Linked DNA regions of Homo sapiens: all the other regions are linked to region 3. The links are contacts of gene promoters, found by promoter capture Hi-C in blood cells and fetal thymus (Javierre and others, 2016). All regions are on one chromosome and are shown on one strand. Each heading gives the region's core, a stretch centred on a gene start or on the middle of the fragment in contact. The rest is flanking DNA. Distances are from core to core; before and after follow the strand shown.

Evidence for each region. The method cuts DNA at HindIII sites, captures the fragments that hold promoters and counts their contacts. A CHiCAGO score of 5 or more calls a contact.
Region 1: the fragment with the promoter of MYL12B here is called in contact with the fragment with the promoter of ANKRD12 in region 3 in 2 of 17 cell types (total CD4 T cells and non-activated CD4 T cells); the score reaches 6.5 in total CD4 T cells.
Region 2: a fragment that was not itself captured here is called in contact with the fragment with the promoter of ANKRD12 in region 3 in 1 of 17 cell types (total CD4 T cells); the score reaches 5.4 in total CD4 T cells.

What each region holds. Positions count from the first base shown.
Region 1 is chr18:3,260,351-3,263,926 of GRCh38, forward strand. MYL12B (myosin light chain 12B) reads left to right here and starts at 1,783. Exons shown (of 4, transcript NM_033546.4): 1 at 1,783-1,887. It overlaps MYL12-AS1 (MYL12A and MYL12B antisense RNA 1), which reads right to left and starts at 2,009. Exons shown (of 4, transcript NR_130145.1): 1 at 1,703-2,009; 2 at 922-980. RefSeq lists an enhancer at 1,179-1,228 and a silencer at 1,439-2,328. The HindIII fragment of the contact is 3,443 bases long and covers 1-3,193 here.
Region 2 is chr18:2,963,721-2,967,471 of GRCh38, forward strand. All of the region lies in intron 1 of LPIN2 (lipin 2), which reads right to left. LPIN2-AS2 (LPIN2 antisense RNA 2) reads left to right here and starts at 3,280. Exons shown (of 3, transcript XR_001753322.2): 1 at 3,280-3,322. The HindIII fragment of the contact is 4,542 bases long and covers 1-3,748 here.
Region 3 is chr18:9,135,321-9,138,925 of GRCh38, forward strand. ANKRD12 (ankyrin repeat domain 12) reads left to right here and starts at 1,461. Exons shown (of 13, transcript NM_015208.5): 1 at 1,461-1,645. NDUFV2-AS1 (NDUFV2 antisense RNA 1) reads right to left here and starts at 1,400. Exons shown (of 3, transcript NR_110772.1): 1 at 1,044-1,400. RefSeq lists silencers at 563-736, 739-828, 1,179-1,528, 1,739-2,138, 2,179-2,228 and enhancers at 1,019-1,068, 1,559-1,608. The HindIII fragment of the contact is 1,483 bases long and covers 1,079-2,561 here.

The sequences.
Region 1 (3,576 bases), core at 533-3,032, 5.9 Mb before region 3:
AGTCCCTGCTACTCGGGAGGCTAAGGCAGAAGAATCACATGAACCCGGGAGGCAGAGGTTGCAGTGAGCCGAGATCAAACCACTGCACTCCAGCCTGGGCGACGGAGCAAGACTCCGTCTCAAGAAAAAAAAAAGTGTCTAATACTGCCAGACGCACTGGTGCGGTGTCTCTCACCTGTAGTCCCAACTACTTGGGAGGCTCAAGTGAGAGGATCGCTTGAGGCCAGGAGTTCCAGGTTGTAGTGCATTATGATCACGCCTGTGAATAGCCAGTGCATTCCAGGTTAGGCAACATAGGGTGACCCCATCTCTAAAAATAAAACGTATCAAATACAACTGAGGAACTAAATTTAAGTTTAGCTGCATGTGGTTAGTGACGATTGTATTGGACAGCACAATTCTAGAAACTTTTTTTTTTTTAATTTAGACTATCGAACCAAAACCTAAGAGTAAATATTGTAGAACCAGGTGTGACTTTTCAGCAATTGCTTTTCTAACACTATTGAGAAAATACACACAGTTATGAACCGCGTTTAGAGCTGTGCTGCTGGGATGGCGACCACCCCATCAGCATCATGTGTGCTTACCAGAAATTCGAATTATCCTCCACCCCTTACTCACTGAATCCTGATACCCGGTTTTGAGGCTCAAAAATGTTTTTAAAAGCCCTGTTATTATGCGTGCTACTGTTTAAGAACTGCTACAGAGTGCTGAACACAAGGTCCCTCTCTTCTAGGAATTTCTGATCAAAGATTTCTAGAATATAAACTCCCTAAGAGGCTTTGAATTCATCTCTCAGCATCCGGCACATGTTAAGGCAGTAAGAAGAGTTCAATAAAGATTTGCTATTAGATTGCCGATCCTCCACCATCCTGAAGTAATGCTATTTTAGTAATGCTAGATGAAGTAATGCTAGATTACCTCAAGGTGAGGGAAAATATCCTGAAGAACACAGCCACAAACACGATCTAGAACAAAACCTGAAAAACGTAGCTTTGTGTTTTTATTTGTGTGTGCATGTATGTGTGTGCGTTGCCATTTTCTTGATAAAGGAAAGCAAGTAGTTCGAATAAAACTTTCTTGTGGCCAAAAGGGGAATCAAACAGCCGTAGGCTGCGGCCGTAGCCTGATACGGCCGTAAACCTTATGAGGGTAAGCAGAGAGGAGTAGGTTAAAGAATTTAACTCGGGCTGTAATGCGGTTTGAAAAGAGAAAGGGATTCTGGAACGGAGAAGAATCCGCCCAGGCGCCGCCCTCACCTTCTCAACATTACATGAGACGAACCCTAAAACCTGTCTTGTCTGAAATTCAAATTTAGAAGAACTGTACTTTTACTTGCTACATCTGGCAACTCAGGGTTCGGCGCCAGGGGACCCCAAATCCTAGGCGGATCGCGCCCCGCCTGGGTCAAAGGGGACCCCAAATCCTCGGCCGATCGCGGCCCACTCGGGTCAAATTCCAGCGGCCTGCCCAGCCGCGCCCAGCGGGCCCAGGAATGCGGAAGGGTGGCGGAGCTACCAAAGGAGCGGGGGACGAGGGCCGGGCTGCGGACGACCGCCGCAGCGCAGGCCGCGATATCGCAGCGGATCGGAGCAGGCCGGAGGGGCAATTAAGACCCCGGCCGTGTGCGTCCGGCCTCAGCAGCCCCGCCGCTCGGCGGACACGCAGACCCCGCCGGCCCGGGCGCGAACACTCAGCGCACCCCCGTTCCACTTGGTCCCGCCGCGCCTTCCGGTGCGCCTTCCGGTGCGCCTTCCGGTGCGCCTTCCGCTCCGCCCCTTCAGGCAGGAAGTGTCGGCGCCGCCACTGTCCGGCCACAGCCTAACGCTCTTCGCTGTCGTTTGTGGTCTCGCGCAGGGCGGCCCCGGTTCTGGTGTTTGGCGTCGGGTGAGTCGCGCTCGACTCTGCTCGCGAGACCCCTCGGGCCGCCGTCTCCGTACCCCCGCGCCCCCTCCCGTCGCGCGCCTGCGGCCGGACCCCGCCCCAGGGCGGCCAGGCGGCGGCAGGACCTGTCAGACTGGCTGAGAAGGGGGCGCGGGGCCGGAGGTGGAGGGAGGAGGGTTGGCGGCGGGAGGAGGGTTGGTGGCGAGGCCCTGGCCCGGACGTCCAGGGGCCGGGAGGCTGCAGGCGATGGAGCCGGTATGGGGAGACGCCCTGCTGGAGAAGTGGCCGGGTCCCGGCCGTGCGTGGGCCGGCCCTGCGCCACCTGGGTGACCTCAGACACCTGGGCCTTGGACGGCCCGGCTGCCCGGCGGCCAACGCCTGCCCTCCCGGCGCCGCGGCGGGTCCTGGCGGTGGATTGGGGCCGACCCGGGCGTGTTCGTGTGGAGCACCTGCCCTGTGCCCAACACTATCCTAGATGCTTTGGAGGGTGGAGGAGCCTCCTGTTGCACGGTCTTGCCTAAGGTGAAGCCTCCAAGGAAGCCATTAGCATGCCGGTAACCGAGTGTGTGGTTGATACGGGCTCAAATGTGATGATTTACATAGAGTTGTAATTCGCTCAGTGTGTCTTGCATCTTGTAAAGGTTTAGTTTATTCGTGTTGATTGAAGAAAGGACCATTAACAGAAATAGGGAAAGGTTACTTGGAAAAGAGTCGTGACCTCACTGAAGGCCTTGGATTCAACCTTAAGAGGGAGAACTTAGCGTTTCCGGCTAGATGTGTGGGAGGTGGTAACGAGCAAAACTCAAAAGCTGGGAATTGTGTCCTGTGAAAAGCAGGCCGTGGGGACACCGGCGGGTATGGAACAGAACTGTAATGACTAATAGTCGGAAATAAGGGTAGATAGGTAAGTAGGACCTTCTTATGGATGTCTTGAAAACTTAGGAGAAAGAAAAGATTATCTAAGAAGCCATAGAGAGTAATTTTGGAGTCTTCACTAACGGAGTAATAAGAAAGGGATGTTTAGAGGATTCGTTTGGCCGCTTTAGTTTAAGGTAGATTTGGAATGGTCTTTTGGTAAGAGAAGAATCAAAGCATTTAGAATTCAGTAGGACCTGATAGATTACCTTGTGAAGGCTTTGCGTTTTATAACTGAGGAAAGTGAAACCCAGAGAGGTGAGGTAATTTGTCGAAGGTGGTGGACCCTCCTGGACTTTATAACTAAGAGCACTTTTGAGTGCTTTAGGCTCTTTTGAGTGAAACAGCTTTTATGATGGCTGACTCGATGTTCGTTTATGCTTTGATGAAACTAAGCTTGAACAAGATGAACTGCAATTTCTGAAGGACAGATGTCCAGACAAGAGTTGCTAGGGTTAGGAAAGAACAGGATTTAGAGCCCCGACATGGGGCTAGTTTTCCCTTTCTCCCAAGATTCAAAGGCTCCAGGTATATCTGGGGATGAGTTTATCATACCCTTTTTGCCAGCATCTTTGTGATCTTCCTTCCTCATTCTACACATTAGCTTTGGGGTGTCATTGCTTGTTATGCCCAGGTATCCACATTTTCATGGTAGAGAATTTCAGCTGCCTGTATGCAGGATGTTACTGGCTAGTGGTTCAAGCTCTGGAGCTAGATTTCCTGAGTACAGATCCTGACTGAGCTCTGCCATTTTCTAGCTGTGTGGCAAGTTGTTTA
Region 2 (3,751 bases), core at 228-2,727, 6.2 Mb before region 3:
ATGGTCACAGAGCAGCATCCCTATCTTGAGGCTTACGGGCATAAATAAAAATATTAAAGTGCACTTGCTGATTCTTGGAACAAGAAGAATACATCCAGCCCATTCTTTTAACAAATACCAAAAATGCTTCTAACACATCTCTGAAATACTCTAACAATAATCACACTGGAAACAACTCTTTTTTTGAAAGCTCGTAACATCCCAAATTCTTAAACTTATACATTATTATCTCAGAACTACTTTAGAGGTGGTATTATTTCTATTTTTAAAGACAATTAAGGCTGGGTGTAGTGGCTCACGCCTGTAATCCCAGCACTCTGAGAGGCTGAGGCAAGCAGATCACTTGAAGTCAGGAGTTCAAGACCAGCCTGGCCAACACGGTGAAGGCCCGTCTTTACTAAAAATACAAAAAATTAGCCGGGCGTGATGGCGTGCGCCTGTAGTCCCAGCTACTTGGGAGGCTGAGGCAGGAGAATCACTTGAACCTGGGAAGCGGAGGGTGCAGTGAGCCGAGATCACACCACTGCACTCAAGCCTGGGTGACAGAGCAAGACTCCGTCTCAAAAAAAAAAAAAAAAAAAAAAAGAAATGAGGGTTAGAAAAGTTAAGTAATATCTATGACCTCCCTCTGTCCCCCACCACCACCAAATTCATATATTGAAGCCCTGACGCCCAATGTGATGGTATTTGGAGACAGGGCCTTTGGGAAGTAATTAGGTTTAGATGAGGTCACATGGGTGGAGCCTCCATGTGATGGATTAGTGTCCTTCTAAGAGGAGAAAGAGACCCAGACCACGCTCTCTTTCCTTTCCTCGTGAGAATACAGCAAGAAGTCTGCAAACCAGGAAGAGAGCCCAATCGGCTGGCACTTTGATCTGTGAGAATGGTAAGAAATAAATGTCTGTTGTTTAAGCCAAATACCATCTATGGTATTCTGCTGCAGTACCCCAAGCTGACTAAGACAAGTCTCTTCTTAAACATCGCATGCTATGCTGCATTTCAGTTTTGGGATCGTTACAGTTGACAGAGACTCACTACTTTACCAAGAAGTCCATAAAAATGTCAGAGAACTATTATGTCCACTAGAAATCACACTGAATATTACCACGCTCTTCCAAATGAAACCACAACACACCAAAGAATTTATCAGAGTCTCTTCTATTCTAGGCTAAGCATTCTTGTTCCTTAAAATATGTGAACTGATTGGGTCTACTCTGACTCTTATGACAATTATTTATGTCCATCTTTAAAAACGATATTTAAAGACAGCTAGACACAATGGCTCAGATGTGGCCTGACTGCTACACAGTGTATGTAATATACAGTGTGCTGTTTAGGCCTAGGTACCTTCCCATGGGCTAGATTAAGTATTGGGAGCTCCGAAGGAAAAGAAGTACTTATTGATTACTCAAATAAAAAAGTGAAGAAAAAAAAAAGCAGTAGAAAATAAGCAACTACAATACTTATTAGAGACCAAATGGCCCTTCGCATATAAAATTCAATACGCCAAATTAGTCCTTCATGCATAAAATTTGACAGTGCCCACTATCATATTTTTCTTATCAAATATTTTAAGGTATAAAAGGACACACACTGGAATGAATGGTAGCTTTCAAGATTTCGTTATTCACCAAAAGTTTGAAGATCAGCTTAGCATCTTTTGCTGAGCATCAAAGAAACTAAAATGAATAATCACTATATGGAGTATGGATTTATAAATAAAATGGGCCAGGCGCGGTGGCTCACGCCTGTAATCCCAGCACTTTGGGAGGCCGAGGCAGGTAGATCACTTGAGGTCAGGAGTTCAAGACCAGCCTGGCCAATATGGTGAAACCCCATCTCTACTAAAAATACAAAAAAATTGGCCTGTATCGTGACACATGCCTGTAGCCCCAGCTACTCGGGAGGCTGAGGCAGGAGAATCGCTTGAACCCGGGAGGCAGAGGTTGCAGTGAGCTGAGATCGTGCCACTGCACTCCAGCCTGGGTGACAGAGTGAGACTCCCAATCTCAAAAAAAAAAAAAAAAAAGCATCAGTAAATAGGTTCAAATACCAATCCCCCTCCTACAAAAACTGCTTAAAATTATTTCAATTATTTGATGTGTTCAATCAAAAATAACTTTTGTTAAGGAAAAGAGTAATCAGAGATAAAAGGTAGTTTAAAAACAATAAAAAAAATTCATAAATTATCAGCACAAAATGGACACATTCTATTTACTTTTATTTTCATTTTGAGACAGGGTTTCACTGTGTTGCCCAGGCTGGACTGCAATGGTGCGATCTCTGCTCACTGTAACCTCAGCCTCCTGGGCTCAAGCGATGCTCCCACCTTGGCCTCCGGAGAAGCTGGGACTACAGGAATGTGCTACCATGCCCAGCTAATTCTTGTATTTTTTTGTAGAGACGGGGTTTTGCCATGTTGCCCAGGTTGGTCTTGAACTCCTGGGCTCAAGCAATCCACCTGCCTTGGCTTCCCGAAATGTTGAGATTACAAGTGTGAGCCACCACGACTGGCCTCAAAATGGATACATTCTAAACCACTATTTTAAGTGTTTCAAAATCTGTTTCTTAAGTTTATCTCCAAATATCTAATCGGTACTAGTATTGTTAGTACTACTACCAACGAACACACAACTAAACTTGTTACACGTCTCTCATGTGTCAAGTGCTATGTTAACCTGTATGTTATCTCATGTAGTCTTCACAGATACCCATGGATTTGGTATTCCCATTTATATGTGGAAACTCGGGTTCAGAAATATCCAAGGTCAGCACACTATTAAGTGGCAGAGTTAATATTCAAACTCAAGTATGAGCCTAGAACCTAAGCCCTTAATTGCATCTCTAAGTAACAGAAATGCTCTAAGTAAACATGATAAAAGCCTTCATGAAGCCTCCAGATTTCTTACTGCAAGTGGGCTGCTTTCAGCAATCTGAGTATCATTTTTACTTAATGCGACTTGACTACTTAAAGATGAAATGATTACAGGGAATCCAAAGAAGCCATACTTACCCTCCAAGTCTCCTCACACCACTACTATTAACCCTCCCGCTGGACCATGGTCCAGTGTTACAAAGCAGACTCCTGGGAGCGCCACATGTCATGAGGCTTACGGACAGAGGTTAAAACAGCTTTTACCAAAGAACATGCCATTGCAGCTAACTTTCTGCTCATGGACATGAGGAGTATGCTAGGAGGGAAGAGAGACACCAGATGCTTCAGGAAATAGACAACAGGACACTGTTACCTAGGATGTAGGTAAACATTCCAGCTTGCCCCTGTGCTCCTGGACCAAACTCCTTCAGGACACCCATGATTACGGTTTGCATTTGATTAGCATGTAATATTTTTCAAGAACTTCCTCAAACATACCTCATTTGATTTTCAAAAAGAGAATGTGGGTTATGCTAGCAGGCATTATTAATTTCATTTTAAATTTGAGATTGAGATAAGAGGTGTCTACTATTCACTAGAACCCAGTTCTACCTATACTCAGGGTCCCAACTTTCTCCACTACCTCTGACCCATGGCTTAAATCATTGGGTCTCAAGGTCATGTGGTGTCCCTGAGGGCAAAAAAAATCTGAGGGCTGAACTCAGGTTATACTAAATCCCTATGGTTTTCTCAAAGAATCCCAGAGTAACCTAGAGGTGGCCAATATGAATCTGGGGGGGATTCTGGATGGTAAAAACTTCCCCCCAAAAGTAAGTGATGAAACGCAAAGGTACCCACGCAGCAGCTGCCGCAAGC
Region 3 (3,605 bases), core at 211-2,710:
GAGACAGGGTCTTACTATGTTGCCTGGCTGGTCTCAAACTCCTGGGCTCAAGCCATCTGCCCGCCTGAGCCTCCCAAATTGCTGGGATTACAGGCGTGAGCCACTGCGCTCGGCTATAACGATTATTTTTAAGTATGTCTTTAAGATTTTTTTTTTAATTGAGAGAAGGTAAACAACAGTTAATTTTCCAAGTGGCACAAAAAAGTAACAATGAAAATGTCCTACCCTGGAGCTCTCCTGACTTTCTCATAGGCGACTGTTTTTTTCTTTGTATTTCACATCATAAATAACCAAGTTAAATGTAACACTATTCCACCTCTAGCCATAAGGTGCTCTTTTTCTAGTCTTGTTGACCCTAAAGATTTGTAGGTGGGAGAAATCAGGAACCCAGGAAAGGAAAAACTCCTGATCTTTAATGCAGGTTTATGCTTTACATAGTAATTTGATGGGACCTCGCCGTCCCTGTCAGGTCTGAATGTCACTTCATCTGCTGTGATCACACCTGAACCCTCAGTTCATCAAGACGTTAAAGGACAGTGTAACATAAACTTGTAACTGCATGCACTAAGTCATAAACAGACGCTGTTGTTGCAGATTAACCTCTACGTAAATAACGCGCCCAGAAGGGAGTGAGTACACGCTGCTGCCACGCTGCGACGGTCAATTTTCCTCCGGCACCCTTCCTAGTACCTGAGCAGCTCCCTCTCAAATCCCCAACACTACGTGTGGGAGGGTGCACTGAATTCCTCTTTAAAAAGGCCACTGGAAGGCGTGGCTGGGAGGGGACGCGCTCTAGACCCCCTGGTGCCAGGGCAGGTGCACGCTACCGCGCTTTCGGGGCGGGGCCCAGGGCCCCACCTGAGGCGGGGGGCCGCGGGCTCTGGGCGTAGGTGCAGCTTCTCCGGCCTGGTGCGGGGCCAGACGGCCGCCGCCGGCTTAGCGGGGGAACTTCGCCTAGTCCTCGGGCTGCGGTCGCAGCGTCATTTTGCCTGAGTTGGATCACGCTCGTCCACCCACCCCGTGTAAAAATAACAGGTGAATACCCTATGTGGGGGTCCTCATCGCCGCCATTTCCAGAAGCTTCCAGTCACAGCCACTGCCACGGTCGCCACAAATGCTACTGCAGAGCCCGCTTGCCCAGCAGCGTCACCGGCGCCTGCCCTGCCTCTTCGCCCAGCCTTTGATTCCCCCTCCTTTGTCGGATAGTGTCTGCGGCGGGGAGGCGGTGACACTAGTCCGAGTGGGGCGTGGAGACCGACCAGCACGAAGGGCGGAGTTCCGGCCCGCACCCCTCCGCCGCCTGCCGCTTGGTACGTCCCGCTTCCCCGCCCTGCGGCTCGCGGAGCCTGGCTGAGCAGCAGGAGGGGCGGGCGCCGGGGGGCGGGGCGGTCACGCCGCCCGTCCCGTGCCCGCGGTAGTCACGTGTCCGCGGGTGTCACGTGCTCGCGTCGCAGCCAATCGCGGGGCGACGCTGTCCTGGGAGCGAGGAGGCTGTGGTGAGAGACGGACCGAGACCGGAGATGTTTTCAAGCCCGGCTCCGGCGGCTTTACAGGCGGCTGCAGCGGCGACGAAGACAACGACAGCGACGGCTACGCCGAAGCACTCGTTCCGGGGGTGAAGCCTCCTGCGCCGGCCTTGCCTCGGGTCCGTACGGGTGAGGGGGGCGTGGCGACAGGAAAGGAGGAAGGAGGGGCGCGGTTTCGAGCTTGTCCCCGGCGCCAGGGAGGAGATCCCCTCAGTTCTGCGCTGCTCCCGTTCCCCCTCCCCAGAGCAAGGTAGGGGACGCGCCCTGCCCGCCCCCCCCGGTCCCGACGCGCCGCCCGCCCAGCCTGGCCCGAGCCGTAGCTCGCCTGACAGTGACAGGCCGTTAGTGCCCCCCGGCGCGGGTCCGCCGGGGCCCCGCCCGCCGCCGCCCCTCCCGGCGTCGCGAGGAGCCGCGGCGCAGGTGGGAGCCGCCAACTGGGCGGGGGCGCTGCGCGGGGCGGGGCGGGGGCCGGGCGGAGGGCCGCGAGCTGGCCTCGTCGCGGGCGCCCCTCACCGCGGCTGGCGGGGCTGGGCTGCCGCCGCCTCCCGGAACATGGCGGGGCCGGAGGAGCGTGTGCGTGCGAGTGTGAGTGTGCGCGGCCGAGAGGGCGCCGCTGGCGTGCGGCGGTCGGACCCGCGGGGGCGGGGGCGCGCCCGGCCCGCCGCGCGTTCCCGCCGCCAGCCGCCGAGCGTGCGCCGACGCCGGGGAGTCTGCCGCGGCCGCTCGGGCCGGGAGCGTCGGAGGTACCCGGGTCCTGGGAGAGGTGGATGAAATCAAGAAGGGGAAATTGCTGCTTTAGTAGTGTCCGGGGAAAGAGCAGCCACTCTACAGTTCTGTCTTAAATGCCAGTGTAAAATAACCTTGCCGCATTGGACAGGCAGTTCCCGTCATCGTTTTTCAAGTACCCACTTGTGATGCTTCAAGACCCCTGGAGCACGTCAGGTTCTTAGATCTCGTTTTGAGGAGTGATGTGGAGTGACGCATCCTTACAGATCCCAAAGCGTTGAATAAACGGTTGTACAAAGAGGTATGCGAAGCTTAGCTGACAGCTGTTTTAGTAATAACAGTAAGACGCTGTCTGGGATAGGAAGTTACTGTTGCACTCGTTGAAACCTTAGGAAACATTTAAAGCAGTGTAGTCACCGGGATTGTAATTTCCACTGGACACCCGTGGTTAAACTGCGAACTAAGGTGAAGTGTGTTGCAGATCCAGTGCTGTGTATGTAATGGTTCGGAATTACCTCTAATCCTAAAGTTGAAATGAGCCTGCATCTGCAGTCATGTATTTCGTTTTCATTTTAGAATGGTTTATGTAAATTATAAAGAAAGGCTAGTGAAATAGCTATTTTATCGTAAATTAACTGTGTATTAAAAACATATGCACAGCCGGGCGCGGTGGCTCATGCCTATAATCCCAGCACTTTGGGAGGCCGACGTGGGTAGATCACCTGAGGTCAGGAGTTCGAGACCAGCCTGACCAATATAGTGAAACCCCCGTCTCTACTAAATATACAAAATTAGCCAGGCGTGGTGGCGCATGTCTGTAATCCCAGCTACTTGGGAAGCCGAGGCAGGGGAATCGCTTGAACCCGGGCGGCAGAGGTTGCAGTGAGCCGAGATCGTGCCACTGCACTCCAGCCTGGGCCACAAGAGCGAAACTCCGTCGCAAAAACATACCAAAACAAACAAACAAACAAACAAAAAAACATATGCTCAAGTAGGCCGTTAAAAATCTTGGGCACTGATCTGAGTTTCTTTAATCGTTATACAAAGCCTTTCCTGGAGATTAGCTCAGAACTGGCAGAACATATGCTCTATTGGTGCCAAGTGGCTTAAAAGCAAAATGAGGATAGTGTCCACCGTGTAAGATGAAGTCGTTATATTAACAGTCTTGTTGAGAAAAATCTTTAATTTGGGTTAAAAGCAGGAGCCTTTAAAAATTTGAAATGTTTACCCCTGGAGATTATAGACAAGGGGAGAAAAGTTTTACTACTTAAGGATCTTTTATATTTGATACAGGCACTGAATAAATTTCTGAAGCTCTACAGGCATCTTGGCTAAGGTCAAGTTTAACTCGTT